Linked DNA regions of Homo sapiens: regions 1, 2, 3, 4 and 6 are each linked to region 5. Evidence: promoter capture Hi-C in human tissues and cell types (Jung and others, 2019). All regions are on one chromosome and are shown on one strand. The core of a region is centred on a gene start or on the middle of the fragment in contact, and the rest is flanking DNA. Distances in the headings are between cores, read along the strand shown.

Evidence for each region. The method cuts DNA at HindIII sites, captures the fragments that hold promoters and counts their contacts. A contact is called where the count stands out against the background at its distance.
Region 1: a fragment that was not itself captured here is called in contact with the fragment with the promoter of MYL10 in region 5 in 2 of the 25 tissues and cell types used here (heart right ventricle and spleen).
Region 2: a contact is called between a fragment that was not itself captured here and the fragment with the promoter of MYL10 in region 5, in 2 of the 25 tissues and cell types used here (IMR-90 fibroblasts and spleen).
Region 3: a contact is called between a fragment that was not itself captured here and the fragment with the promoter of MYL10 in region 5, in 2 of the 25 tissues and cell types used here (H1 embryonic stem cells and dorsolateral prefrontal cortex).
Region 4: a contact is called between a fragment that was not itself captured here and the fragment with the promoter of MYL10 in region 5, in 2 of the 25 tissues and cell types used here (dorsolateral prefrontal cortex and mesenchymal stem cells).
Region 6: a contact is called between a fragment that was not itself captured here and the fragment with the promoter of MYL10 in region 5, in 2 of the 25 tissues and cell types used here (heart left ventricle and mesendoderm cells).

What each region holds. Positions count from the first base shown.
Region 1 is chr7:102,007,611-102,012,433 of GRCh38, forward strand. The region is part of intron 2 of CUX1 (cut like homeobox 1); the gene reads left to right. Among named protein-coding and RNA genes, the nearest start is that of CUX1, 190 kb to the left of the region's middle. The HindIII fragment of the contact is 3,917 bases long and covers 139-4,055 here.
Region 2 is chr7:101,919,233-101,923,880 of GRCh38, forward strand. The region is part of intron 2 of CUX1 (cut like homeobox 1); the gene reads left to right. Among named protein-coding and RNA genes, the nearest start is that of CUX1, 100 kb to the left of the region's middle. The HindIII fragment of the contact is 7,119 bases long and covers 1-4,648 here.
Region 3 is chr7:101,943,929-101,948,753 of GRCh38, forward strand. The region is part of intron 2 of CUX1 (cut like homeobox 1); the gene reads left to right. Among named protein-coding and RNA genes, the nearest start is that of CUX1, 130 kb to the left of the region's middle. The HindIII fragment of the contact is 9,788 bases long and covers 1-4,825 here.
Region 4 is chr7:102,026,164-102,030,979 of GRCh38, forward strand. CUX1 (cut like homeobox 1) reads left to right here. Exons shown (of 24, transcript NM_181552.4): 3 at 1,935-1,982. Among named protein-coding and RNA genes, the nearest start is that of CUX1, 210 kb to the left of the region's middle. RefSeq lists an enhancer at 4,498-4,547. The HindIII fragment of the contact is 5,342 bases long and covers 687-4,816 here.
Region 5 is chr7:101,627,724-101,631,941 of GRCh38, forward strand. It overlaps MYL10 (myosin light chain 10), which reads right to left and starts at 1,573. Exons shown (of 8, transcript NM_138403.5): 1 at 1,318-1,573. The coding sequence starts at 1,395. The HindIII fragment of the contact is 21,528 bases long and covers 1-2,948 here.
Region 6 is chr7:101,984,508-101,988,749 of GRCh38, forward strand. The region is part of intron 2 of CUX1 (cut like homeobox 1); the gene reads left to right. Among named protein-coding and RNA genes, the nearest start is that of CUX1, 170 kb to the left of the region's middle. RefSeq lists enhancers at 538-1,450, 775-934, 2,437-3,636 and a silencer at 3,582-3,876. The HindIII fragment of the contact is 3,801 bases long and covers 232-4,032 here.

The sequences.
Region 1 (4,823 bases), core at 847-3,346, 380 kb after region 5:
TCTACAAAGCCCCACTCTCTCCTGTTCCCGTCAGTCTGCTTGCCAAGTCCAGTTTATTTTAATTCTGGGGAACGTTGTCTTCCTCCTCCCCCCTCCCTCGCCACCACCCACCTCTGGTGTTTTTTTTGTTTTGTTTTGTTTTGTTTTTTTTGAGATAGAGTCTCACTCTTGTCACCCAGGCTGGAGTGCAGTGGTGCGATCTCGGCTCACTGCAACCTCCGCCTCCTGGGTTCAAGCGATTCTACTGTCTCAGCCTCCTGAGTAGCTGGGACTACAGGCACCCGCCACCACACCCGGCTAATTTTTGTATTTTTAGTAGAGGCAAGGTTTCACCATGTTGGTCAGGCTGGTCTCGAACTCCTGACCTCAGGTGATCTACCTGCCTTGGCCTCCCAAAGTGCTGGGATTACAGGCACCACTTCTGGTTCTGTTACCTTCGTCCAAACTTGTATTTCCCAGCTGGTATCTTCCATCTCCAGGCTTTCCCCTCTGGCCTGTCCTTTAGCAGGAGTCACCTTCCTGAAGCAGACCCTGGTCTGGTCTCTGCGTACTACCTTTTGCATGGTTGGTGGCCGTCCACCCGCCTCTCAGGCCATGTCTGGGTTCTTCTAGGGGCTTCGGTGATCTGGGAGCCTGTCCCCGCTGGCCCCCTCTCCCATGTCTTACTCCATCAGCTTCACCTTGTTTGTATCTCTGGATCTCCTCTTTTTTCCTTCTGTTTGTATCTTGTCTCTTTCTAGAAAGCCCCCCCACCTCTACTCGCCCCTCTGTGGCAAATATCACCCAATTCAGGTGCCCCCAGCCCAGCAAAGAGGGATTTTCATTCCTTGGGCCCCCGTTGTAGGCTAGCTGCGCCTGTCTTTCGGCACATTTCATTTCCTGCCTGGTATTTCGGTCGTGTGCGTGTCTTTATTCTCCTCGTGTAATCCCTGAGGTGCAGAGTGCGTGTCTGTCCTCCTCTGCCCTCTCTAGAGATTGGGATATGACCAGTGTTCAGCCCCCAACCAAAAGAGCCTAAGAACCCCAGGTCCCCAGCCTGTCCTGCTCTGCTGGGGGCCCACATGCCTGGGGACAAGGCACCTTTCCTTCCCTGACCTTGACTAGGACAGGACATGGGGTAGGGCCTGAACATTGAGCAATTGTCAAACTGCCTACTTACGATGAACAAAATAGCTTTTCAGGAGGCGAGACCACAGCACAGTCATGGTGAATCCTGATGCGCACCCCAGGTCTTTTATCAGGATTTTTGTTTTTCCTGGTGGGCACAGATGTAGGTGGAGCAGATCAGAGGCCTCTCAGGTTCTTGATCACTCATGGCAGTTCAGGCCTGCCAGTAGTGAGGTCAGAGATCCATACAGCAGGGGAGAGAAGGGAGGTACAGGGAACCCTCGGCCCCGCGTGCTCCAGCAGGTCTGCATGATTAACCTGAATTGCAGTGTTCAGAGGCTCGGCCTGCCAGCCACAGCGGTTCCAGATGAAATGCAGCTTAGAAGGCAGCATGGTGTAGTAGCTTTGGCGCCAGCCGCACCCAGAGTTTGGATTGTAGCCAGATGGCCTCAGGTGCAATGTATAACCTCTGGGAATTCCAGATTTCCTATTTACACGACAGGGATGATTCCATACCTGAAGGGCTGTTTGGAAGCATCTAGAAGCAAGCACAGTGGAGTGGCTGTCATGACGCTGACCGCACAAATGATGGTGTTAGGATCCCTCCACGGATGTGGCCAGGTGACACCCCTCACCTAGGCCGCACAGCACCCTAATGTACACACTGAAGAAAGGCTGCGTGGGGCTGCAGAGCGGCTCATTTCTAAGAAGGCCAAAGAAATTGCTCAGTCCAGACCAGGGAACCCAGTTTCTCTTTTAGAGGTGGGATCTTGCTATGTTGCTCAGGCTGGTCTCGAACTCCTGACCTCAAGTGATCCTCCCGCCTTGGCCTCCCAAAGTGTTGAGATTCCAGGCATGAACCACTGCACCCAACCTGTAGCCTCTTTCTACAAGTAAAATAATTCAGGTGAGTTCAGGCCCACGCCAGGTCTTAAACCCTGGCCCTCTGCCCATCTTCCAGCCTCCACCCCTTCTCTCTCCTTACAGAATCTTCTGTTCTTCTGCACACCAGCGTGGCAGACAGGTTGGCCAAGGGCCTTGGACTTCTTTATCTCTAGTACATGTTCCTGTAAATTTAAACCTCCTCAGTTGGGTAAAAGCTTTGGAATTACTAACATTCCTTTTGTGCTGCCTAACGTTCTTGCCATTTAAAAGATTAGCAGGCATAATTTCAGTGAGCCTTCGTGACTGGCGTGCCTCACTTAGCTTAATCCCTGGTTGGTACATGTTAAAACCTATAAAGACAGCCTCTCCAGCACACATGGGGAGCTTGAAAATGAAAGAAAGGTTGCTCTGACCTCTCAGAACTGCGGACTTCTTAAAAAAGAAAGAGTGAGGTGGGCGGCCTCCCTTGCTGCCGGTGCTAGATTCCATGATATGAAACAGCAAGGGTGCAGCTGGGTGCGGTGGCTCATGCCTGTAATCCCAGCACTTCGGAGGCGGGGGTGGGCAGATCACCTGAGGTCAGGAGTTCGAGACCAGCCTGGCCAACATGGTGAAACCCCGTCTCTACTAAATAATACAAAAATTAGCCAGGCATGGTGGTGAGTGCCTGTAGCCCCAGCTACTCAGGAGGCTGAAGCAGGAGAATCACTTGAACCCAGAGGTGGAGGTTGCAGTGAGCTGAGATCACGCCACTGTACTCCAGCCTGGGCAACAGAACAAGAAGACTCTGTCTCAAAAAAAAAAAAAAAAAAAAACTGACTTGGATATGTGCTTACATAAGAAAGGGAGATTCACCAAGTGAACCATGCATAGCATCTCTTAAATCTGTATCATGGAATTCGTGATTGGGCCTCTCTTTCATATCAGGCAACATACATGTGATGTACATACCTGTAGCTTCCGGGAAAGGGAAGGAAGTAGAGATGACATTGTCTGTTACTCGTTTGTATGTGTGTGTGCGTATTTAAGTAAATATGTGTGTGCATAGGGACATGTCACATGCATGTGTGGCACATTTATAGGATGAAGAGGTGTCTAAAAGACATTGAGGAAACTCAGTGAAGGAGTTCTGCCGGCGGGCGTGAGGACCACGCTAAAAGATGCCGGTTGTGCTTTGTGTCTAAGCTGAAAGCATGGATATCATTTTATAAAAGTAAAATTATATTGGCCAGGCGTGGTGGCTCATGCCTGTAGTCCCAGCACATTGGGAGGCCGAGGTGGGCGGATCACCTGAGGTCGAGAGTGTGAGACCAGCCTGACCAACATGGAGAAACCCCCATCTCTACTAAAAATACAAAAAATTAGCCAGGCATGGTGGCACATGCCTGTAATCCCAGCTACTCAGGAGGCTGAAGCAGGAGAATCACTTGAACCTGGGAGGCGGAGGTTGCAGTGAGCCAAGATCATGCCATTGCACTCCAGCCTGGGCAACAAGAGCAAAACTCCATCTCAGAAAAATAAAAAAAAAAAGTAAAATTATATTGTTATTGACGGTCTCTTTGTTCGAGTAAGCCGTCTCTGGATATATCATTGTATGGTGTATTCATGCCAAGGATTTGGTGTGAGTCTTGAAGCATTCACACCAAATTGTGGCCAAGCCCAGCACTGAGAGCGCAGTGGGCGTTCGGAGGACACGTTTGGATTTTGTGATCCTCTGCCTGGCAGGAGCTGCTCAGCCCCTACAGCCCCTTCCCCGAGACCACCAATGCGTTTCTCTTCAGTTTTGCTATTCTCATACGCTGGTGATGGGATTTTGGAGACAAACATGGTCTCTTCTGCTTGCTTGCTTGCTTATTTATTTATTTTTCCTCCCAGGTTCAAGTGATTCTCCTGCCTCAGCCTCCCAAGTAGCTGGGATTACAGGTGTGCGCCACCATGCCCAGCTAATTTTGTGTTTTTAGTAGAGACGGGTTTCACCGTGTTGGCCAGGCTGGTCTTGAACTCCTGACCTCAGGTGACCTGCCCACCTTGGCCTCCCAAAGTGCTGAGATTACAGACATGAGCCACCGCGCCTGGCCTTCTGCCTTTTTTGGTGAACTCCCTGTGGGTGGGAGAACTACCCGGTGGAGTCGGTACCTAACCAGGGCAGGACACGGAGGTACACCCCTCTCATTTTCGGCAGCAGGGTGAGAGGATTTTTATTATCTTACTTAGACACTTGAATTTATTTTTTTATTTTGAGACGGAATTTCGGTCTTGTCACCCAGGCTGGAGTGCAATGGTGTGATCGCTGGTCCCTGGGTTCAAGTGATTCTCCAACCTCAGCCTCCCAAGTAGCTAGGATTACAGGCGCCCATCACCACACCTGGCTAATTTTTGTATTTTTAGTAGAGACGGGGTTTCACCATGTTGGCCATGCTGGTTGACGCTTGAATTTATTTATTTATTTCAGATAATTTTGGACTACAGAAAGGACTCTTTGAAAGGGTATTCTAAAATAATTTCACCCAATTAGGTTTTAAACATAGTCTGCCATATTGTTGATTTCACAGGATTTGCTTTTTTAAAAAAATGTATTTTATTTATTTAGAATTTTTCTTTAAGAGATGGGGTCTCACTCTGTTGCCCAGGCTGGAGTACAGTGGTGCGATCTCGGCTCACTGCAACCTCCGCCTCCCGGGTTGAAGCAATTCTCATGTCTCAGCCTCCCAAGTAGCTGGGACTATAGGTGCGTGCCACCATGCCTGGCTAATTTTTGTATTTTTAGTAGAAACGGGGTTTCACCATGTAGGCCAGGCTGGTCTCGAACTCATGACCTCAAGTCATGCACC
Region 2 (4,648 bases), core at 1-2,500, 290 kb after region 5:
TGTGTGTGTAGATAGCACATGTGTGGAGCCTCAGCTCAGTGCCTGGCCTGTGTCCCAAGGGGACACTGGGTCACCGTTTGTTTGGGGTCTCAGTCTTGAGGAGCCACCACTGCCCTGACACTGGTTGCTCCTCTGGCCACACCGCAGGATTGATTACTAACCGTGGAGGTGACGTCGGGTTGTTGCATGTGTAGAAACGAGGCTTGCTTAGAGCTTTCGCCCGTTGGGTAGGACAGCCTGGCTTACCGGGAGGAGGGTATCCTCTTCCCTATGGATGCAGCCCACGATCCCCATGGCAACATACCTTCCAGGGCACAGCGTGGCAGAGCCAGGGCTGGTGGTGTTCCTGCTGGTGTGACACCAAGGGTGTTGATCTTGATGGAAACGCCCACGTCTCTCTTTGTTCTGGGAAAGAAGGAAAGGTTTCCTGGTGTCTGATGAATGTCTAATGTGTTCCACAGGGAGGATTAGGCACCCGCGAGGGTTCAGTGGGGAGTAAAGTTTGTCTGCCATCGGAGATTTCACCTTCTAGACTGGCCCTTCCCAGATGTCACTGGGAAAAGCTCTAGTCCAGGAGGGAAAAGGTGGGCTGTGACGGGGAGGTGGCCAGGGAGGGGTGCTGTGTGGTGGCTGGGACTCTGACAGGCGGGAGAAGCCACAGGAACATCAGGAGGTGAGCGCCAGGATGGCTGGAGCCTTGAAGGGTTTTTCTGGGGACAGGATCCTGCTCTGTCACCCAGGCTGGAGCGCAGCGGCACGATCACAGCTCACTACAGCCTCCAACTCCTGGGCTCAAGTGATCCCTCCGTCTCAGTGTCCCGAGTAGCTGGGATTACAGGAACGTGGCACCACAGTGCCTGGCTAGTATATTTTATTTTATTTTATTTTTATGTGTTTTTTTTTTTTTCTTCAAGTGTCTTGCTCTGTTGCCCAGGCTGGAGTGCAGTAGCACGATCTTGGCTCACTGCAACTTCCACCTTCTGTGTTCAAGCAGTTCTTCTGCCTCAGCCTCCCGAGTAGCTGGGATTACAGGCATGCGCCACCACACCCAGCTAATTTTTTTGTATTTTTAGTAGAGGTGAGGTTTCACCATGTTGCCCAGGCTGGTCTTGAACTCCTGACCTTGTGATCCACCCGCCTCAGCCTCCCAAAATGCTGGGATTACAGGTGTAAGCCACCGCGCCTGGCCGTAGTTTTTAAATTTTCTGTAGAAACAGAGCCTTTTGCTGTTGCCCAGGCTAGTCTCAAACTCCTGCGCTCAAGCAGGGTCCTCCCACTTTGGCCTCCCAAAGTGCTAGGATTACAGGCACGAGCCACTGCGCCCAGTTGAAGGTTTTCTGTTTAGAATTAGTTTTTTAAAGTTTCAGTTTTATATCATTAGATTAATATATTTGCCATCATATGATATTGTGTCTTTTTAATCCAGAAATTGTAGTTAATTTGCAGAAGATTGCAGTTACTCTGCAGATAAAATTGTATACGTTTTCTTTGAATCTACAAAAAGAGTCCCTTTGAAAGAAAAACATTTTTAAATGTTCTAACTGAACATCCATTCCCTATTGAATTAAGAATCAATCGTGGAACATAATAGGCGGTGGAGTGTTTCTAGGGTATATTGCTTTCTATATTTTTGTTTTTTTTGGAATATAGTGGCACAATCATAGCTTACTGTGGCCTCGATGTCCTGAGCTCAGGCGATCCTCTCCTTATAGCCTCCAGAGTAGCTGGGACTATAGGTGCGTGCCACCACACCCTGCTAATTTTATGTTTTGAAGAGACCGGGTCTCACTTTGTTGCCCAGGCTGGTGTCAGACTCCTGGGCTCAAGCTAAATCACCCACCTTGGCTTCCCAAAGTGTCGGGATTACAGGTGTGAGCCACTGCGCCCAGCTCTGATTTTTGTATTTCTTACTTAAGGCGACATACTTAGTAGCTGTGCGTCTTGGGGCAGATACCTCCCAAAGCCCCAGTTCTGTCATCTATAAATAATGTAACAACAGGGCCCCGCTCGCAGGGTTGCTGTGTGCACATATGTGTGTGTACGTACCCATGTGCCTGTACGAGAAGGGCTGCGCACAGGCCTGTCCCTAGAGTTTAGCTTATGTTCGTTATTAGCATTAACCTGGGAATACTCACCGTGTAACTCATGAGATACAGTGGATTTCTGTTCCTCAGAGCTAGCTTGGGGAATTTCTATGTTTTATTTTATTTTATTTATTTATTTATTTATTTATTTACTTATTTATGAGGCGGAGTTTCACTCTTGATACCCAGGCTGGACTGCAGTGGCGCCATCTCTGCTCACTGCAACCTCCACCTCCCAGGTTCAAGTGATTGTCTTGCCTTAGCCTTCTGAGTAGCTGGAATTACACGTACCCGTCACCATGCCCGGCTAATTTTTTGTATTTTTAGTAGAGACGGAGTTCCACCATGTTGGCCAGGCTGGTCTTGAACTCCTGACTTCAGGTGATCCACCCGCCTCGGCCTCCCGAAGTGCCAAGTGGCATGAGTCACCACACCCGGCCTTAGCTCGGGCAACTTTAAAAAAAAAATAACAACAAATATAGGTAGTTTCAGCTTAAAGTGTTTCAAAAGTTGGTTTGTGGCCAGACACAGTGGCTTACGCCTGTAATCCCAGTGCTTTGGGAGGCTGAGGTGGGAGGATCGCTTCAGACCAGGAGTTTGAGACCATCCTGGGCAACATAGTGAGATTCCATCTCTACAAAAAAATCAAAAGATTAGCCAGGATGGTGGTGTACACTTGTAGTCCCAGCTACTTGGGAGGCCGAGGTGGGAGGATGGCTTGAGCCCAGGAGGTTGAGGCTGCAGTGAGCCATGATCATACCACTGCACTCCAGCCTGGGCAACAAAGTGAGATCCTGTCTCAAAAAAAAAAAATTGGTTTGTAATAACAATTAATCATCTTACAAATATTTATTGAACACCTTCCATGTGCCAGACAGTTTGGCCCTGGGAATAAAACCCTATCTCCATTCTTTAAAAAGTTTCTTATCTTTCTTAGTAAGCAAATAGAACCCAATGGCAGAGCGTGTTAAGTGCTAGGATAGAATGACTGGAATCTTCTGACTGTAGACTTTCCCCACAGAAACACTCTTATGTCAGTGGTGATAAAGTTCTCTGGATAAGCCACATATGGCTCAGTAACCCTTTTTATAGATAAACAGTTCTGCTTTTTGAGCCTTGGTTCTTAACCTTTAAAATATCCATGAAAGTTGAGGACCTACGCACCTGGGAAATGCACGTTTGCAGTTTCTGGGGGGCTCCCAGACACTCATCCATGCAGCCTTAGTTTAGAACACCAGTTCTCTGGGCCCATAGTCCCAGTTTCAGCTCACCATTCCAGGAGAACCAGTGGGTCACCTCTACTCTCCTTCTCCTCCTTGTGTCCTGGGGTGGAAGGGGATGAAGGAGGGAGGAGGGGGGATTCTAGAGCTTTGGGGTGGGTGACAGATGAGTACCAAGGCCTGACCGCTGGGCAGGGACAGGGTGTGCCTGGCCTTGGGCTGGGTGCTGGGGAGTGGGAGATGGGTGAAGGAGCAAGGCCACCTGATGTGACAAGGGGCTCCACGGGCTGGCAGCAGGGGCAGCACCTCTGCACTGGGCTGGCCACAGCATGTCAGGAGGGAGCAGCAGCAGCTATCTGGAAGCCTGGTGGTGTTAGAATCATGTATGTGAGCAGTGGAGGCTGAAAGCCTAGCTCTCGCAAACCCCAGAAAGTGTCTCTTAGCTTTTCCGTTTGCCGTTTGCTTTTCCATGGCTTTGATCGCGGTCAAACTCCGATTTCCCGCGTGTGTGATTCCAGAGTTCTTCTGGAGGCGAGGTTACGGGAGGTCTGCAGCATGTCTGACCTGCAGCCCCGGCTCACTGGCCTGGCTGTAGGGAGTTAGTGGATGGAGAGTGGCTGGACAGTTTGGAGACCAGGTAACCCAGCGTGGGGTCCTCCCTGGAGAAACCCCCAGTGCTCCTGCGACATCGGCCTGGCTTCAGGGCTCTGCTATTTGAATGTGATGCTCAACTCTCCAATAAATGGTCGTCTGTGTTAGGCTTGCTTCCAGAAAGAGCTCAGGGATGGTTTTGGGTTTTGTTCTGCTTCTTTTCAATATGGGAGGAACCTTCTCTGATGGGAGAAAAGAGAGGAGGAGAACCACATTCCTGAGATGCTGTGATTTTATCATGAAACCATCCCCAGCCCTCATCCTGGTGACGTCAGTCGGCCCAGTCCTACTCCAGAACGCTTCTTGGGTGTCTGTCTGCAGGACTTTGCTCAGTTAATTTTTGTCTCCTCTAAAACAGACCCCGTTGCTCTGGGAGGAGAGCCGAGCTGCGGCTCAGGGGCCGTCACTGGTCATTTTTGCCCTGATGTATTTTTGCCTCTACATTTCTTGATCTCTGGAACGTTAATCCCAACGATGCCTGGTCTGCGGTGCTCACAGTCTGTGTCTGTGCTTTCTACACCTGTCCTGCTCAGATGCACATGATGTCACACCCAGGTCTCCATCCTGGCTCTTGTTGGCTGCGGCGGCAGCCCTGACTGTCGGAGACGCCTGGCTCAGCATGCCCACCTTGCAACAGGGAGCACCCTGTGCTGCTCACAGAACTGCCCATCCACTTTCTTTTCCTTTCCTGGG
Region 3 (4,825 bases), core at 1,719-4,218, 320 kb after region 5:
GGCAACATAGCGAGACCGCGTCTCTATTTAAAAATTAAAAAAAAAAAAAAAAAAAGACAACTTGAGCCGCACACAGGTTCTTGCCAAAGCCTCTATTAGTGCTGTGACTCGGGAAAGAAAACTTGTTTTTTTCTTCAGTTGACTGGGCTCAGCCATCCCAGGTGTGAGTGACTCAGGCCTTGAGAGCAGGTAATGGATCCATAGGGAGCCCTGTCCCCACCCAGGGAGACTGTCCCAGCCCCTCCCGATGGCTCCTTCCAGAAAGGGGCGCAGTGGGCTGGGTTGCAGGGGGTAGTTGTGTCCAAGAGTCCTGCAGGATGGAGTGGGAAGGGGCAGGAGGGGTGTCCTGCACTGCCAGCTGTTCATCTACCCCAGTGCCATGGAAACAGAGCTCCTGCTTTTCCCCAGGAAGGCGTTGATACATTTATAGGCTAGCATTCAACATCAGCGTTGTGCTCTGGCAGTCTCAGCAGTAAGACATAAACCTACCAAGGTCTGGGGGAAGCACTGGGTGTTACCATCCTGGCTCACGCGGGAGACGCATGCTCCTCCGTGACTGTTTGTGGCCAGTGAGCCACCAGTTGACACCAGCAATCCAGCCTTCTGCCCCTCTCACTTCACAGATGAGGGAAGTGGGGATCTGCCTAAGGTCACACTTTGGTGCATTTCTCAAATCAAACCCAGGAGCCGGAATTTTTCTACTGAGCTCCTGCTAAGACACCCTGGGTCGTTTCCTCCGGGCAGTCCATGTCATCTGCTGTGGCGTGTATGTTCATGGGTGATTCTGTTTCTGTTTTTAAACCCTGTGCCTCTTGGTTGGTGCTTTTCCTCCTGGAGGATGCTGCAGACCTGCAGCGGTCACCTCGGGCCACCCAGGGAGCAGGTGGGCACACCCAGGTTGCATCTGTCGCCACACTGGTGCAGGCCGTGTTGCACATCACTGCTGCCGGGTTGACCCCACTTGGTATGAAATGAGAGGGCCTCTTTTCTGAAGCAAGGTGTTGCAATTTAGCCTGGGGATGAAGCTGCTTCTTCCAATACCCAGAGTTAACACCAAATGCCACGAGAGTGAGAAAATAAGACAGCATTGCACTTTCCCAGAAATTGTCACCCCAGGGTGCCACCCCACCTCCCAAGCCCACTCTGGGACTCCTTCCACACACAGTCACCCACTGGTTACCAAGCCTGCGGGGCAGGTGCTAGGTGCGTGCTGGGAGTCAGGGGTGGATGAGGTCTTTTGCAGACAGGGCAGAGCGACCTCAGGGCAGAGCCATGAGGGCCTGTGTGCAGCGGCTTCCACCCAGGCAGGCTCCGGCTCTGCACCTTCAGCTACAGGATACACTTGCTTTCGACACCTCCACTGTCATTTAGACACAAAGCACACCACCACCGAAACCACTCCACAGAATGTAGAGTTTCTTGCCAGGAAAATAAAATAAATTAAAAGTCACTAATACTTTTATTTAAATTGCGAGTACATTTCCTCGCTGTTGCATTTTGTAATTTATACCTGGGAGTTAATTTATTGTTATTTACAGTTGCACAAGGACTCATGGAAATGCCTTGTGTATCGAGTGTTCTCATTATGCTGGGCACGGTCCCAGGTGCCGGGGAGGCAGGTCATAGTCCTGGCCTCGTGGAGCTGATGTTCTGAACGAGAGTTGAGTACCCAGTGGGACATCCTGAGAGCCCAATGCAGGTCCTGGTCAGGGCTGTGGGGACTGTGGGGAAGACCTGGATGGCAAGAGGAGTAGGGACAAGATCTACAGGATTCTGCATGCAGGGCTGCAGGCCAAGAGGGAGGAGTTGGGGGTTCTAGTCCGCTAGGTTCAGGGAGCCAGACGTGTCTGCTGTCCCAAACCTCCTGTGCTCAGGAACGTGGTTCTGATGAGCCTGTATCACCTTCCCTTCCCTCCACCTATGGGTCTGAGTGGCAGGAAGAGTTCTAGCTGTGTCAGCCAAGGCCGGGGACACCAGAGGCACAGGGCTTGGTTTAGGAGTCAAGACAAGGCATTTGCTTATTTAAAGAATGAGTTCTATGCACTTCCAATGAGTGGTTCTGTGGTCAGGAGGGCGGCACCTGGAGAGAGGTCAAGGTAGAATTGTGGATTTGGAAGGGTGGAGGATGGAAGGCCCCAGAGGAAACCAGCAGTCAGGGACTGAGGAGGTGATGGCATTCTCTAGTGTGATGTGTGGACAGACAGAGTAGAAGAACCAAAACCAGTCTTGGAGCGACAGGTGGGTCAGACGGCAGCTTTCTCTGGACCCGGGTCAGGAAGAGAAGGGTTTCCAGCAGGAGGGAAGATTGCGCTTAGGAAGAGAAGGGTTTGCTGGGCTCGATGGCTCACGCCTGTAATCCCAGCACTTTGGCAGGCCAAGGCATGTGGATCACCTGAGGTCAGGAGTTCATTTTGAGACCAACCTGGCCAACGTGGTGAAACCCTGTCTCTACTAAAAATACAAAAATTAGCCCAGCGTGGTGGTGTGCGTCTGTAATTCCAGCTACTTGGGAGGCTGAGGCAGGAGAATCACTTGAACCTGGGAGGTGGAGGTTGCAGTGAGCCAGGATCGTGCCACTGCACTCAAGTCTGTGTGACAAGAGCGAGACTCCGTCTCAAAAAAAAAAAAAAAAAAAAAGAGAGAAGGGTTTCCAGCAGGAGGGTCAGTGGCGGTGAAGCTTGCAGCTGGCAAATGTTGGGTTGGATTTGGGGTGGGGAGTGAGGCCAGGAGCTGGTGGAGGGGGGCAGAGGAAGGAAAGATCACTCACTGCTAAGCCTTTCAGATGAGTTCCCCGTGGTCATCAGAGGTAGGCCTTGCTGTCTTAATTTTACAAAAGATGAAAGCCACAGGAGGCATAGACTTGCTCAGAGAATTCATACTCAGTTCAGCAGACTCCAGTATTGATGCTCAACCCATGCTGCTGCTGGGGAGGGCTCAGGGGACAATGTTAAGTGAGACCAAGGAGGTGGCACCCCTGAACCAGTCTCTCCGTGAGCTCGGCGGTGAGAAAACAGTGCACAGGGAGAGGAGCCACAGAAGGCCCGGGATGTGTCACCCAGGGTTTCAGCTGGGAGGGGACAAAGCCGATTTGGGTGGGAGAGTGGAAGTAGGTCCCAAGAACTTTTATTTTAAATGTTTTGATGACAGATTTAAAACTTGAGTAACTTCATTGTAAAATGGCCAGGCGTGGTGGCTCACACTTGCAATCCCAGCACTTTAGGAGGCTGAGGCGGGAGGATCCCTTGAGCCCAGGAGTTGGGAGACCGGCCTTGGCAACATAGTGAGTGAGACCCTGTCTTGACAAAAAATTAAAGAATTAGCCAAGTGTGGTGACATGTGCCTGTAGTCTCAGCCACTTGGGAGGCTGAGGCAGGAGGATTGCTTGCACCCAGGAGCTCGAGGCTGCAGTGAGCCGTGATCATGCCACTGCACTCCAGCCTGAGCAAGAGCGAGACTCCGTCTCAAAAAAACAAAAACCGAAAAAACCACCTCACTATTCTAGGCCCGAGCCCGAGCTTAAATATTTACCCCATATCCAACCATAAGTTAATCCCGCACACACCTTCATCAGTTTCTTAAAGAAACTGGTGCCCCAGCACGGGGCATGCCAACGTATTAGACAGGCAACAACTTAGACATGGGGATGAAATGAATTCCATCTTAAATCTCAAAGTGCACAATACAGTCTCTAAAATTAAAGAAAAGAAAGATTTATTTCCAAAAAAGCCCACAGTGAAATAATTGTCTCAGTCTGTGGAGAGAGCTAATTTGGACAGAATCACATATTTTGATTCCTGGGATTTTTTTAAAAGGAATCTTTTAAAGCAGTAAATGAAATATTTTTGGATGTAGACAAAAATGACTTACTTAGCCATTCCACTGGCAATGTGGAAAGGATGAAGACCAATTTTGAGTTAGCAAGGACACCTTCAGAAAGTTCAGCTCCCAGGAATTGTTGACCCTAGCCATCCATGTCTGTATTTCCTGAGGACTATTGCTTACGGAATTAATTGGGACTAATTTCTGTTGCACCTGATCTCCAGCCAAAACACTCACATTTTGCCTCATCTGCAGAGACCTGGGCTGAGTTTTATCTCTGCGTCACTGCCGAGTTCCCTGCCCCCGCTCTGTTAACAGAGCTATAATTAACTCACAGGACGCCAGGCAGCCAGATTCGGCCAGGCGCCAAGAAATCAGCCCCAATTACTATATTCACATTGTCAGTAATGCCCACTTCACAGCTTCTGCTAATTTGAAATGGCAAGTTCCAACTTTCCATAGTAAAATTACCATTTTTGTCCTATTCTATTACGTGGTGATATTTGTCCATTATTTGGGCTCCGTAAACTTGGCATTATCACGACAATTAGTTGTTGAGGGTTTTCTAAAATGATTTGCAATTACATCTCTTAAGCGGAAAACTGTCTGCTCTGATGGAGTGAGAATCCATTCCCTCTGTGCCCTAGATCCACTTTAGGAATTGGCTTTTCATAGGGGAACGTGGTGCCTCGGGATTTTATAATAAAGTCGAGCCTTTAAAATAAGGGCTAGCCTTGGAACGTTGCCTGCTTTGTAGATTTCCAGTGTTCAAGTTGTCTGATTTCTTTATAAAGATGGAGAAGTGTCTCTGTCCCTCTGGGTCTCCGAGTTCCCTTGAGTCTGGGCCTCTGTATCTGGATCCCCTCAAGCCCTACTTTGTTGTAAGAGCCAAATTAGCCAGGGGCTACTGGTTGGTGGCTCTGCTGGGGGGGCATCACAGAGTCTCTCTTCTCTGACATTTGCTGACCTTCAACCCGCCCTGGTACAGGAGCACCCCATTGAGGTC
Region 4 (4,816 bases), core at 2,108-4,607, 400 kb after region 5:
GCAAGACCCTGTCTCAAAAAAACAAAAGCTTGCTGTACAGGCCTGTCCTGTAGGTCCCTCTGCAATGATGGAAAAATTCTGTGTCTGCATTGTTGGAAGCAGTAGCCACCAGCAACGGGTGGCTACCGAATCCTTGAACTGTGGCTAGGGTAACTAAGAAACTGAATTTTCCAAATTTATTTAACTTTAAGTTATATTTAAATATAAATAAGCACATATGGCTGTATGTGTTGAATAAGAAGACTTTTTCATCTGGGATCTTGATAGGTCTTACTTAGGAAGCCTCTGATAAAATAATTTGCAGAGTTTTATTTCTAATGGCAAGGTCAGTAGCTTTCCTCAGATTCTCAGAAGGCTTCATCAACTAAAATGTAGGCCTAGCCCGGTGGCTCATGCCTGTAATCCCAGCACTTTGGGAGGCTGAGGTGGGCGGATCACCTACGGTCAGGAGTTTGAGAACAGCCTAGCCAACATGGTGAAACCCCGTCTCTACTAAAAATACAAAAATTAGCCAGGCATGGTGGTGGGCACCTGTAGTCCCAGCTACTCAGGAGGTTGAGGCAGGAGAATCACTTGAACCTGGGAGGTGTAGGTTGCAGTAAGCCGAGATCTCGCCACTGCACTCCAGCCTAGGCAACAGTGAGACTCCGTCTTTAAAAAAAAAAAAAAAAAAAAAAAAAACATAGTTTCAATGCCTAAACTTTCAGTAAATAAGATATTATCTTAGTCGAGTCTTTTCAAAGTTTTTGAAGCACTTTCTCAGTTACTTCATTTTAAATAAAATGCTCTGAACAAGATCATAAGCATGCACCTATGGGATGTCCTGGTGTTTCGAAATGGGCACTGGTGGCATGGGATAAAATTTATTGTGACTCTGTCAGATGTGGATTCAAAACAGGCTGTATCTCCGACTTAACAGTGCATTAAAATGGCAGCTAGGGCCGGCCATGGTGGCTCATGCCTGTAATCCCAGCACTTTGGGAGATGAAGGTGGGCGGATCACCTGAGATTAGGAGTTCCAGACCACCTTGGCCAACATGGCAAAAACCCATCTCTACTACAAATACAAACATTAGCCGGGCGCCTGTAGTCCCACTTACTCGGGAGGCTGAGGTGAGAGAATCACTCAAACCCAGAAGGCAGAGGTTGCAGTGAGCTGAGATCTTGCCACTGCACTCCAGATTAGGCGACAGAGCGAGACTCCATCTCAAAAAAAAAGAAGAGGCAGCTAAAATACAGTGCAGTGGCCCAGGTCCATTTCAGATAGAAACAGCCAGGCAAACCCCCCATTCTAGTCTATTTTATTCTAAGCAGATTATCTCACTTAGACTGACATCAGCAAAAGCTTTAGTCTGTAGCACATTCAAAATGAGGTATATGTGACCAGGAGTTAGTAGAAATAAAACATCGTTGTAGGCCAGGTGCGGTGGCTCACACCTGTAATCCCAGCACTTTGGGATGCTAGGGTGGGCACATCTCTTAAGCCCAGGAGTTTGACCCTCGCCTGGACGACATGATGAAACCCTGTCTCTACAAAAAAATACAAAAATTAACCAGGCATGGTGGCGTACGCCTGTAGTCTCAGCTACTTGGTAGGCTGAGGTGGGAGGATGACTCTAGCCCAGGAGGCAGAGGTTGCAGTGAGCCAGGGTTGTGCCACTGTGCTCCAGCCTGGTCAACAGAATGAGACTCTGTCTTCAACAACAAGAACAACAAAGAACCACCTCGTTGTATTCTTAAATAAGTTTAAATCCTGAAGCGCCAGTTGGCGTTATTGATGTTTTAGGAGTGCAGGAATGGGTGAGGTCCCAGGCTTGCTTTAGATAGTGATAATTAGCACTGACTGCCACGCTGTTTTTAGGAGGCCTTAACCAATGTTTCCCTTCTTTCTCCTTCTCAAATGGCTGCTTCCTGACCTCCGCCTCCTGCTCCAGGATTTGCGCAAGCAGGTAGCGCCGCTGCTGAAGAGTTTCCAAGGAGAGGTAAGCTTTTCTATTCATTTTCTATCCTGAGCCACCCTTCGTGGCTAATTGGTCTTTTTATTCACATTAAAGAAATGCTCCGGGCAAAAGGTGCTGCCCAGATGGTGCCTTCCCGGCTGCTCCGACCCAGCGTCATGCAGATTTTGCGCTCTGTGATGTGATTTTCCATTGGGTCCTTGGTGAAAGCCCTCCTGGAAAAGGAAGCTATGCTCAGAATACACAGAGCTGTGGTGGATTGCCAGCAGAAGTGCCCCGTGTGTGGTTGCAACAGGCAGGTTGTTGGCGCTACGGCCTTCAGGAGCCCATGCATCCCCTCTAGGAAGTCGCCTTGTCCCCCTGAGCTGGTCTGGGGCTGCCACTGCCATGAGTGTGTGCCATAAGTGTGGTGCTTTGCTGAGAGGCTGGCGGGGGCACAGGGAGGCCACTTGATCACAGGCTTGAAACACAGAGCATCTAGCAGAAGCCACGAGGAGCAAGCCTAGGCTCAGTAGAAGGAAGTGGTTTCTAACGGATCCTTCCAGAGAAGGACGGAGCCATCTGGCAGACGGCACGTGGGTGGCAAGTCACCTGGGACATCCGCCCTGGCTACCTGTTAGCGGGAACAGCAGCCATAGAGGGGACTGGGCTCCACGTGAGTGACACTCTTTGCCAGCCCTTTGTGTGAAGATTCAGTGATGTTTAGAAAACCAGAAATTATATTATTCTTGCGGATTTATTGAATCTCACCTCTTTAGCTTCTCCCGACGGAAAAACAGAAAGTGGAATCATAGCAGGCTGATAAGGAAAGGAAACGAGACATTTCCAAAGCCCCTGAAAGAGCCCATATTGGTACAGTCTTAGGGATTTTTTTTTTTTTTTTTTTTTGGCGACAGAGTCTTGCCCTGTCACTCAGGCTACAGTCCAGTGGTGCAATCTAGTCTCACTGCAACCTCCGTCTCCCAGGTTCAAGTGATTCTCCTGTCTCAGCCTCCCCAGCAAATGAGATTGCAGGTGTGCACCACCACACCCAGCTAATTTCTCTATTTTTAGTAGAGATGCAGTTTCACCATGTTGGCCAGGCTGGTCTCGATCTCCTGACCTCAGGTGATCCACCTGCTTTGACCTCCCAAAGTGCTGGGATTACAGATGTGAGCCACTGTGCCTGGCAGGGATTTTATTTTCTTGCAACTGCTAAGTCACAGGGAACACATGGGGGAAGGGACAGGAGAGATATGGCCGTGAGATACAGGAGAGATATGGCCGTGAGATACAGTAGGTTCCTCTTGGGACACAGGTGATGTGGGCCTTATATATGGAAGGCTGGGTTCCTGGTCCCAGAGCTCTAGAGCAAGTTGTCGGGCTTCCATTTGGGAAATTCATCAACTGGGAGCGAGAGCAGGGAGTGAGTGAATGAAGGAGGCCAGGGCGATTGTAGCCAAAGACAGAGAGGCGATTTCAGGACATCAAAAGGGACCAGCGTAGAAAGAAGACACAGCAGTTGGTGATGGCTGGAAATTTTCGAGGGCAGAACAGTACCCCTCTCTTCTTATGATCTTCTTCCTGCCTCATTCAGCCCCCATGCACGTAGCTTGGTCCGGCCAGCAGGACACCTGCATCCCAGGGCTTGGATGGACTTGAACAGTCTTTTTCTCAGAACTTCATCTCCAAGCCCGTAGTTGATGAGTGAGGCTGTTACCTGACACCTACCCACATTTGATCTTACCTGTTCTGTTACCTGTCCAGCGGCTTTTGGGAGACCCACTGGCTTCCTAGTTCTCTCGCTCAAAGAGTTCAGTGTGCTTTCTAGGTGTTTGCTTGTTTTTCTTTCTTATTGAAAAATTTCAAAGCTGTGTAAAAATGGAAAGATTAGTACAGTGAATACCTGTATGCTTTTTTTTTTTTTTGAGACAGATTTTCACTCTTGTTGCCCAGGCTGGAGTGCAATGGCACAATCTCAGCTCGCTGCAACCTCCGCCTCCTGGATTTAAGCAATTCTCCTGCCTCAGCCTCCCAAGTAGCTGGGATTACAGGCATGTGCCACCACGCTCAGCTGAGTTTTGTATTTTTAGTAGAGACGGGGTTTCATCATACTGGTCAGGCTGGTCTCTCATTCCTGACCTCAGGTGATCCGCCCGCTTCGACCTCCCAAAGTGCTGGGATTACAGGCGTGAGCCACTGCGCCCGGCCCACCTATATGCTCTTTACCCAGATCCACAGTTGCTAACATTTCACCCCATGTACCTCCCCCCTCCCCTCCCCGCCCACCACTTTTGCTGAACATTCAGAAGTAAGTTGCAGAAGCAGGCACTGTGTCCCTCAAACACACGTGGAAGGCTCCCGAAGTTAAGGAATTATTAGCATTCTCCTACATTACCACAATAACCACAAATATCACACCTGGGAAAATTCACAGTAATTCCAGGTCATCTCATATTTGATCCAAAATCAAATTTTTCCAATTATCCCCAAGATGTCTTTTATAACGGCCCTCCTCGCAACTGAGGTCCAGTCAGGTTCACACATTACATTTGGAAATCTGTCTATCTAATTTTCTATTTTAAAAAGTGTTTTTTTTTTTTGAGACAGGGTCTCGCTCGGTAACCCAGGCTGCAGTGCAGTGGTGCCATCATGGTTCACTGCAGCCTCCACCTCCTGGGCTCAGCAATCTTCTTGCCTTAGCACTCCCCTGCCCCCACCGCCAGATAGCTGGGACTATACATGTGCACCACCACATCCGGCTAATTTATTTTTATTTTTAGTAGAGACGAGGTTTCAATACATTGCCCAGGCTTGTATCGACATCCCGGGCTCAAGCCATCCTCCCACCTTGGCTTCCCAGAGTGCCTTGATTACAG
Region 5 (4,218 bases), core at 323-2,822:
GCCCTGGGCCAACTGTTTTCTCTAGAGCCAAGGGACCAAGACCCAGGAAGGGGCATTTGGCCAAGGACACAGAGTAAGTTGAGGCTGCCTACCCCAATGGGAAGACTTGGCCTTGAGCCGTCAGGGAGTGTTGCCCAGGGTGGGGCCACCCATGCTGGCTGGGACCCACTCAGACTGCAGTGTGGCCGGACCTCTGGAGCTGTGGGACTCTGGGTGGGACATCACCCTCTAGGAGGCTCAGCCATCTCATAGGAATAGGGGGGAGTGTATGAAACCCCCGGTCTGCTTATGGAGAGAGTTTCTGCACCAACCTGGCCCTCGGGGGCCCCTTCTACCAATATGCCTATTATCAGGGTGTCCATTAAGCACCCCCAGGCCAGGGGACCCCCTCAGGGCACTGAAATGCTCAATGAACAGAGAAAGCAACAGGACAAATAAAAGAAAAATGGGGTGGGCGCAGTGGCTCACGCCTGTAATCCCAGAGCTTTCGGAGGCCAAGAGGGAAGGATCGCTTCAGGCCAGGAGTTCAAGACCAGCCTGGGCAACATAGTGAGACCCCTATCTCTACAAAATATCAAAAAAATTAGCCGAGCATGGTGGTGTGCTCTTGTAGTCCCACCTACTCAGGAGGCTGAGGCAGGAGGATTGCTTGAGTCCAGGAGTTTGAGGCTGCAGTGATCTATGATTGTGCCACTGCACTCCAGCCTGGGCGACAGAGTGAGATATTGTCTCTTAAAAAAAAGAAAACAGAAAACTGGAGGTGACTCTGATGAGGAAGAACTGAAAAATGAGACCTCCATTCCACCCTGGCCTCACACACACACATCCATCCCCACCAGGCCTGGCCCAGCCCAAGAATTCTCTAGTAGATCTGCCAAACAGAGCCCACACCTGCCCTGGAAAGCCCCTCCTGTGTCTAGTGCAGCCCCAGCAGCCCCAGCTCGGCCTCAGAGGCTGCCACTGTCCATCTGGGGCCCGCCATATCTGAACAGCTGCCAGGGCCGGCAGTGCTGGGTTCAGGCAGTGAGCCCACGGGTCCCCAGGGGCTGGAGAGCTTAACTGTCCCTGGAGCTGGCCTCAGGCCTTCAGCCCCGGGTACAGCTGATCCCCTGCCTTTGGGGAAGGGAATATCATAATAATAATAAGAAGAGCAGCTAATATACAACACAGAAGGTCAGGCCATGTCTTAAAACACGTGTCCTCACATTCAATCCATATCCCATTTTCCAGATGAGGAAACTGAGGCACGCATGGGTTAAGTCACTCACCCAAGGCAGATAAGAAGTGGGGCCAGAGGCCAGGCACAGTGGCTCATACCTGTAATCCCAGCACTTTGGGAGGCCGAGGAGGGAGGATCACTTGAGGCCAGGAGTTTGAGACCAGCCTAAGCAACATGGTGAAACTCTGTTTCTACAAAAAAATTTTTTTTAATTAAAAAATTAGTCAGGCATAGTGGTGAAGTGAAAAAGTTCCCTTATCCCGTTCATAGGGCATGCGATGGGGGTGTGGCTCGCTTCTTCCATGCCCAGCTGCTCAAACCTCTAGGCGGACCATGCAGACAGGCAGGCTATGGGGCTCCGACCCCACGGCAGTGTCTAGGGGTGGATGCTTACAGCTCCTGAAGCCCCAGTGGGCGTGTGTTACAGGATGCTCTTTTACTTTTGCCATCTGTAGGTGGCTTGTGTTCATCAGCTCAGTTAGACCCTCTGCCTTATTGCAAGGACAAAGGGCTTTTTGTATCCTGGGGTTCTTGCCTTGGTGTACTGTGAAAATTGAATCACATGTGGGCTTGGAGAATGAGTGCGAGGTTTTATTGAGTGGTGGAAGTAGCTCTCAGCAGATGATGGGGAGCCAGAAGGGGGATGGAGTGGGAAGGTGATTTTTCCCCTGAAGTCAAGGTGCTCAGCAGCCAGACTCTCCTCTGACCATCCCCAGCCAAATTCCCCTGGGCATTTGTGTTATTCAGCCAGTCGATGGCCTGCCAGCATCTGCCAGTGCTGTCGGTGTGCTCTTCCGATCCTCTGCTCCTCTTGATGTCCAGCCACCTGTGTGTGTACCCACTGGGGTCTCAGGGTTTTCATAGGCACAGGATGGGCGGGGGGGCGGGGGGCGTGGTGGGCCAGGGTGGTCTTGGAAAATGTGACATTTGGGCATATAAACAGGAGTGCCTGTCCTCACCTAGGTCCGTGGGCACAGGCCCAAGGGTGGAGCCCTTGCCAGGGACCCTGCCTTTCTCCTCTCAGCACTTCCCTGTCCCCCCTCCTGTATCAGTGGCACATGCCTGCAGGCCCAGCTACTTAGGAGGCTGAGGTGGGAGGATCACATGAGCCCAGGAGGTTGAGGCTTCAATGAGCTGTGATTGCACCACTGCACTCCAGCCTGGACAACAGATCAAGGTCTCATTTCTAAAACAAAAAAAAAAAAAAAAAAAAAGAGAGAGAGAGAGGGAGGGCCAGGACAAGAGCCCCTCTTTCTAGTGTTTCCAGAAGGAAGCTTCCAAAAGGTTCTGCTCATCCAAACTCTCCCCTCCTCCTGCTCCCTCCCAGTCATCCCTGACTACAGCTATTTCTGATGTCCCTAAACTCCTGTGACTGAGTGCTCCTCCCAGAGCTGGGGCCAGGTCCAGCCATGATGCTGTGCAGCCCGCTTTCTGCAGCAGGAAACCGTGTGCCTCAGTTTCCCCGACAGGGCTGCTCTCCTGGTGTCCTGGCGTTCCTCTCCGGGGAGAAAAACCACACGTTCCACAGGTGTTCAACAAGCCAGGCGGAAAGGAGAACCCAGCTCTGGGGACGGGAGCCTGGATTCCAGTCCCAGCCGCCTGGACCTGCTACAGAAGGGGGCCTGTGTGACCGCGACAGTGGCTAGGGTGCAGGCTTTCCATGCCCGGTCTGTGAGCCTGGCCCTGGGGCCTCCTGGCTCTGGGCTTACAGAGTGGGTAGCAGACCTATAACTCCTGCTTCCTGCCTCTGGCTTCCTGCTGCCCTGAGGCCTCTGCAAGCAAGGGCTCTTGCCTCCGGGGAGCACGCCCAGGACCGTGGCAGGGGCTCCCAAAGGCCGGGGACAGGCCTGAGCAAGCGGAGAGCCCCCCCGCCTGCCCGGAGGAGGGGAAGCGGCGCTGGTGAATCACACCGGGCTTACAAATTAGTCTGAGTGGATTTCCTCCCCTGGCCTCCTCCTTCATAGGACCGGAGGCAGGAAGAACCGGTGAGAAATCTGGTAGAGACGTGAAAACCCCGGGGTGAGATGGTTGGGAGATGTTTGTTCCTGGGGGGCGGGAAGTGTGAGGGTGCAGTGGCCTTGAGAAGGGGGAGCCGTGAGTTCTGCACCCACAGTGGGACCCTCAGTTTTCCCCATCTGAGAAATGGTGCCAGCAGCCAGGACCCCTTGAGGCTGCCATCGGGAAGCTTAGTGCCATTGGAAGGAGGTGGGCTTTGGGGTCATCGGCCTGGGGTTTGGAGGGCAGAGCCTTCCCCTGTCCCCCTTTCCCCCTGTGTAGATGGAGTCCTTGACAGAACTTGCAGCCTCTCCAAGCTGCAGCCCCCTCACCCAGGTGACACTGCAATGAGTCAGTTGTCGTGGCTGGGTCACACTGTTTGACTCAACTGACCACAGGGCCAGGGCCAGTTCTTGGGGTCAGAGACACTCTGAGAGGTCTCTGCTCCCAGCCAGGGGACCCTGGAGAGTAAGTGTCCTCTGGAACTGGAATTCCAGGTCTGCCTGGGGTTGAGTCAGAGAATACTTAGCACTCTCGGTTTCCAGAGGTAACTGAGGTCCTGGGAGTGGCCAAGCCAGGAAGGGAGCTTGGAACGAGCCCAGCTGCCTGGCAGGGGGACAGCTGTTCCCCAGACAACACTGGAACAAGCCGGGGAGATGCCTTCCCCTTTCAACCCTCACCCCTAACCTCTCACCTATAACTCCTCAGGGTCAGCAGGCTGTCCCTGTCCCCCAGCCCCACAGCCCTTGACCCCTTCCCTGGCCAGCCATCACCCTGACCTTGGCTGTTCTGCAAATTCTTCCCGAAATCTCCTTCCTCCAAGCCTTTGGCCACATTGTATGTTTCCCTACTCATCACAATCAGTCTCCAGCCTGCTTTAGAACACCTCTCGGACGGCCGTGGTGGCTCCCGCCTGTAATCTCAGAACTTTAGGAGGCCAAAGTGGGTGGATCACCTGAGTTCAGGAGGTCAAGACCAGCCTGGACAACACGGCAAAACGCTGT
Region 6 (4,242 bases), core at 882-3,381, 360 kb after region 5:
AAAAAAAAAGTGCTTGCAGTGAGAACCTGCCCTGCACTCTCAGGCGAGCTGTTGGGTGCAAGTCCTGCAGGACTGAGCTCTGAAGGCCACCCACACCCTGGGTTGTGCTTGGATGATGGCATCCCTCCTGGCACAAGCGCAGATGGGCAGTCGGGAGGGAACATCAGCCTGGGAAAACTAGATGTCAGTGAAAAATGCTGGAGGTGGCTGGCGTTCGCAAAACTCAGTCGTAAAAAACAGCACGTTCTCAGTACAAAATGAGCACTGTTAAAAATAAACCGCGCAAGAAGAAATATATGAATACGAGGGCATGGCAAACAGTTTTGCAAGGTATTAAGATCGCATTAATCTTAATTTTATTATATATTAAAGTTTCTAACTTTTCAAATAATGCAGTTTTCGTTGTTTTAAAACGTCTGAGAATTATAGAGCTATTTGGTGTGGCTCTCAGGCAAGGACTCCTGCCATTTATTGGGGCCCTGGTTTTATTTAATAGCCAGATGAATGGAATAGTTAATAAAAGAAATATTGCTTTATTCCCTGACATTTATGTCCTTGGTTTCCAATAAAGAATTGAAATTATGAATAGTTGATGGTTTAAATTGATGTTTTATGTTGAACGCTAGCTATAATTTGCCCTCTGAGGATTGTAATACCGAGAAACAGATGGTTTCTCACAGTAACAAATTGCTATGTGTATACACGCTATAGTCTTGGCTTTCAGATACTTTCACCTTTGGTTCTGAGCTGCTCTGCAGACGGGAGAGGGGGGTCGTGCGGGGAGATCAGCCTCTGGAGGAAGGGGTTTCCTGCCCTGTGGGGGAGACACAGACAGGCCCTGGGGGTTCAGGGAAACTGGGGAAATGTAGCTAGCCTGGCATGGTGTCAGTACCTGGGGCCAAGAGGAGCGTTCTGTCCACGATCATGGTGGCAGCTGCAAGGTAGTGCCTGCAGGACTGCTGTGCATGTGGCTGTTTGACACCATGCCGTGCTGCAAACTCCACATCTTCCTAGAACAACCAGGAGAATGCCGTGGAGACTTGTTGCCAGATTTTTGCAGTTGCCCTGCAGTGGAGAGGTTAAGAGCTTGGACTCCGGAGCCAGGTGGCTGGGCCACTTTGGGGGAAGTTTCCCAAATTCCCACATCTCAGTTTCCTCATCTGTAAAATGTGCATAAGAGCAAAAGCCACCACCCTGTTTTGAGGATTCAGTAAAACCATCCCTCTAACACAACACTGAGCCCAGTGCCGGGTATGGTGTCAGTGTCTGCCAGGTAATGGTGTAACGAAAATTACAAAGCAGATTGATGTGGTGTGATTCTTGACGTTACAAAAGCTTCCTTGTTTTTCAGAGGGAGTTCCCACAGGGGTTCTTTAGACAGGCAGTGCATTAAGGTTGCAGAAATTTACTTTCCAGAAGGTTTTAAAGGAACGCAGCTTCAATGGCAGCAAGGTACCTGAAACAGGAACCCTTCCAGAGTGTCTCTGTTTTGTTGGCCTTTGAGACCTGCCGCTTCTGACTGCGGGGACCTGGGCTGCCCCAGATCTGTCTGTCAGAAGCCTGGAGTTGTTAAGCTGGTGAAATTTAACACCACTGTAAAGAGCCCCTCACAGACAATTCAGGAACGCTTACAGATAGAAACCGGTCCTGGTTTTAAGGTGTAATTTTGCACAAGTGTTAACAACAAGAGATGGAATTGGTAACGAGGCACTGGGGTCGGATCTTCATATTTTTGTCACATTTCATCGGTGAGATCAGTAGGTCTGTCTCCCCTAAGAGGAGTGTGGAATTTAGTGTTTTTCCTTTTTTGGGCTGTGACCCAAGAGCTTGTTTTCAAGATATGTATTTATTTAGAATACAAGGCTCTTTTCCATAAGGAAAGAAAATGTTACAGAAATGAGCTCTCAGTTAATTGAATAAGAAACCTGTTCGTCTCATGACTCACTTAAGAGAGAGCTGGCAGCCCTTCCTGAATGCCTATTACAGGCGGCACTGTGTCCTTTTACTTAATCTTCCCAAGGAGGATGAGGGTTGCAGGCTCCCCAGGCCCATCGCTGTGTTGGTGAGTGACAGAGCCTCTGTAAAGGAATGGGGATGAGCTCTGAGCCCTTTTCCCGTGGGCTCTGCTGCCTGGAGGCATGCCCTCCCTCGGCTTGTCTTCCAGCTCTCGCACAGAACCAAGTGTTAACTGGTGGTGGTTTGGAGACGAGAGGAAATGGACCGTAAGGACCATTGAGTTGGCATAAGGAGACCAGGGCCCAACTCCGGACCCTACCAGAGCAGAGTCTTTCTCCTCTGTAATGTGAGACTGTAGAGCTCTAGAATGTTCCTTCTCCAACTCAGAGCTGATGCTGTCAGGGCCCTGCTGCAGGGTCCTTCAGTGGCTCCCTGTGGCCTGAAGGACAAGCCAGCTCCTGCCCTGGAAGCCGTGGGGATGTGGTCCTAGCCTGTGCTCCTGCCTCGCTCACCTCCCTGGAACACCAGGGCCACCTCTCTGGGCTCCTCCTGTGCCCCAGTCTGCTCCTGCCACCCCTGTCCCACCGTGCTTCCTCCCTCCCTGTGCCTCAGCTCAGGCCTTGCCACCTGGAGCTCTGACCTCGTCCGTCTTGGAATGAGGCACCTGCATGGGTAGCCCATGGGTAGAGTTGCAGTCATCTGTTTGCTTTCGATTCACTCCCGCATCCCGACACAGTGCCCAGCACATCATCGATGAATGAGTGTGGGGCAAATGCTTGCACAGAAGTCCGTGCGTGAGCCACGACGGTAAACAGAGGCGCTCCTCTTGTCCTAATGTGGAACTCCCCAAGCTACGGGAAAGGGGTGCATATGGACCGCTGCTCACTCACGGCTCAGATACTTCCACGGTAATGGGTTGGCGACAGTGACTCAGCTTCTCATAGGTTCAAGCGGAAGAAATGGTGAGTCCTGGAGCACTGCTTGCTTTGAAGTCTGTTTCAGACTAGGGTCATGTTTCAAAGTTTTTGAATTTCTTTTTTATTCAAAAGACATTTGATGAGTTGACTATTGGGGGAACCTTGACCCCGGTGACTCCGTGGGACAGGGGATACCCCCGGGGTCCCTTATAAGCCTGCTGACTCACCGCCTGTTCTCCATCTTCTGTCTTCCACATTAGAAGCAAGGGCGGGGACATTGCCTTTCCCGGCCGCTGCGGTGTCCTGGCGCAGGGCACGTGCCTGAGGGCCCTTGGTCATCCGAGGGAGGACTGCACCAGGGACATCAGAGTGCTGATCTTACAGGAAACGGCAAATGAATGGAATTGGTCTGACTCCATATTACTCCTTACTTAGATGTAAAACAAATACACATGATTTTTCATCCTAGAAGAAAGTCTAAACGAACTCTTGACAAAAACAGCCAAGTTCAGAGAAAGCTGACTCTGTTGGTGTAAGAAGCGTTTTTTCAGGCTGGGCTGCTGGCTCATGCCTGTAATCTCAGCACTTTGGGAGGCCGAGGCAGGTGGATCACTTGAGGTCAGGAGTTCGAGACCAGCCTGGCCAACATGGGGAAACCTCGTCTCTACTAAAAATAGAAAAATTAGCTGGGCGTGGTGGCGCATGCCTGTAATCCCAGCTACTTGGGAGACTGAGGCAGGAGAATCACTTGAACCCGGGAGGCAGAGGTTGCAGTGAGCTGAGATCACGCACTGCACTCCAGCCTGGGCAACAGAGCGAGAATCTGTTTCAAAAAAAAAAAGAAGAAGAAGCTGTTCTCCGTGAGTCAGCCCCGGTGTCTGATAAGTGTCTGCAGCTGACAGCTCAGAGCTGGTGTCAACCCACTTTGGAGGCTGGGGTGGGAGGCAAGAAACCCAGACAGAACCCCTCCTGGCTGCAAAACCTCCAGGCTTAACTGTGGCGCCCACTCCATGGTGGGTCTTAACTCTCCTGAAAACACTTCATGGGCTGTGGGCCTCTCGGGTGCTTCTGCGCCAGCTCTTCCTCTTCACCTCCTGCCACAGATCTGTGTCCCCAGGCTCTCCTGTGTGTCTCCCTGCTCCTCCTTTCCCTCCAGGTCCGATTCCACAGCCCTGGGCTGCCTTTCCACCTCTGCCTTCTCTGGGGTATGTCCTCGCCTCTCCTGTCACCATTGTCCTCAGGGATCTTCCAGCTTTCCAGGCATTTGGAAAGAGGCCTCCATACCTTGATGTGGCCTCCCAGGTTCCTTGCGACAGAGTCCTGCGTCGGGATACCAGGGGCTGGGCGCGGTGGTTCATACCTGTTATCT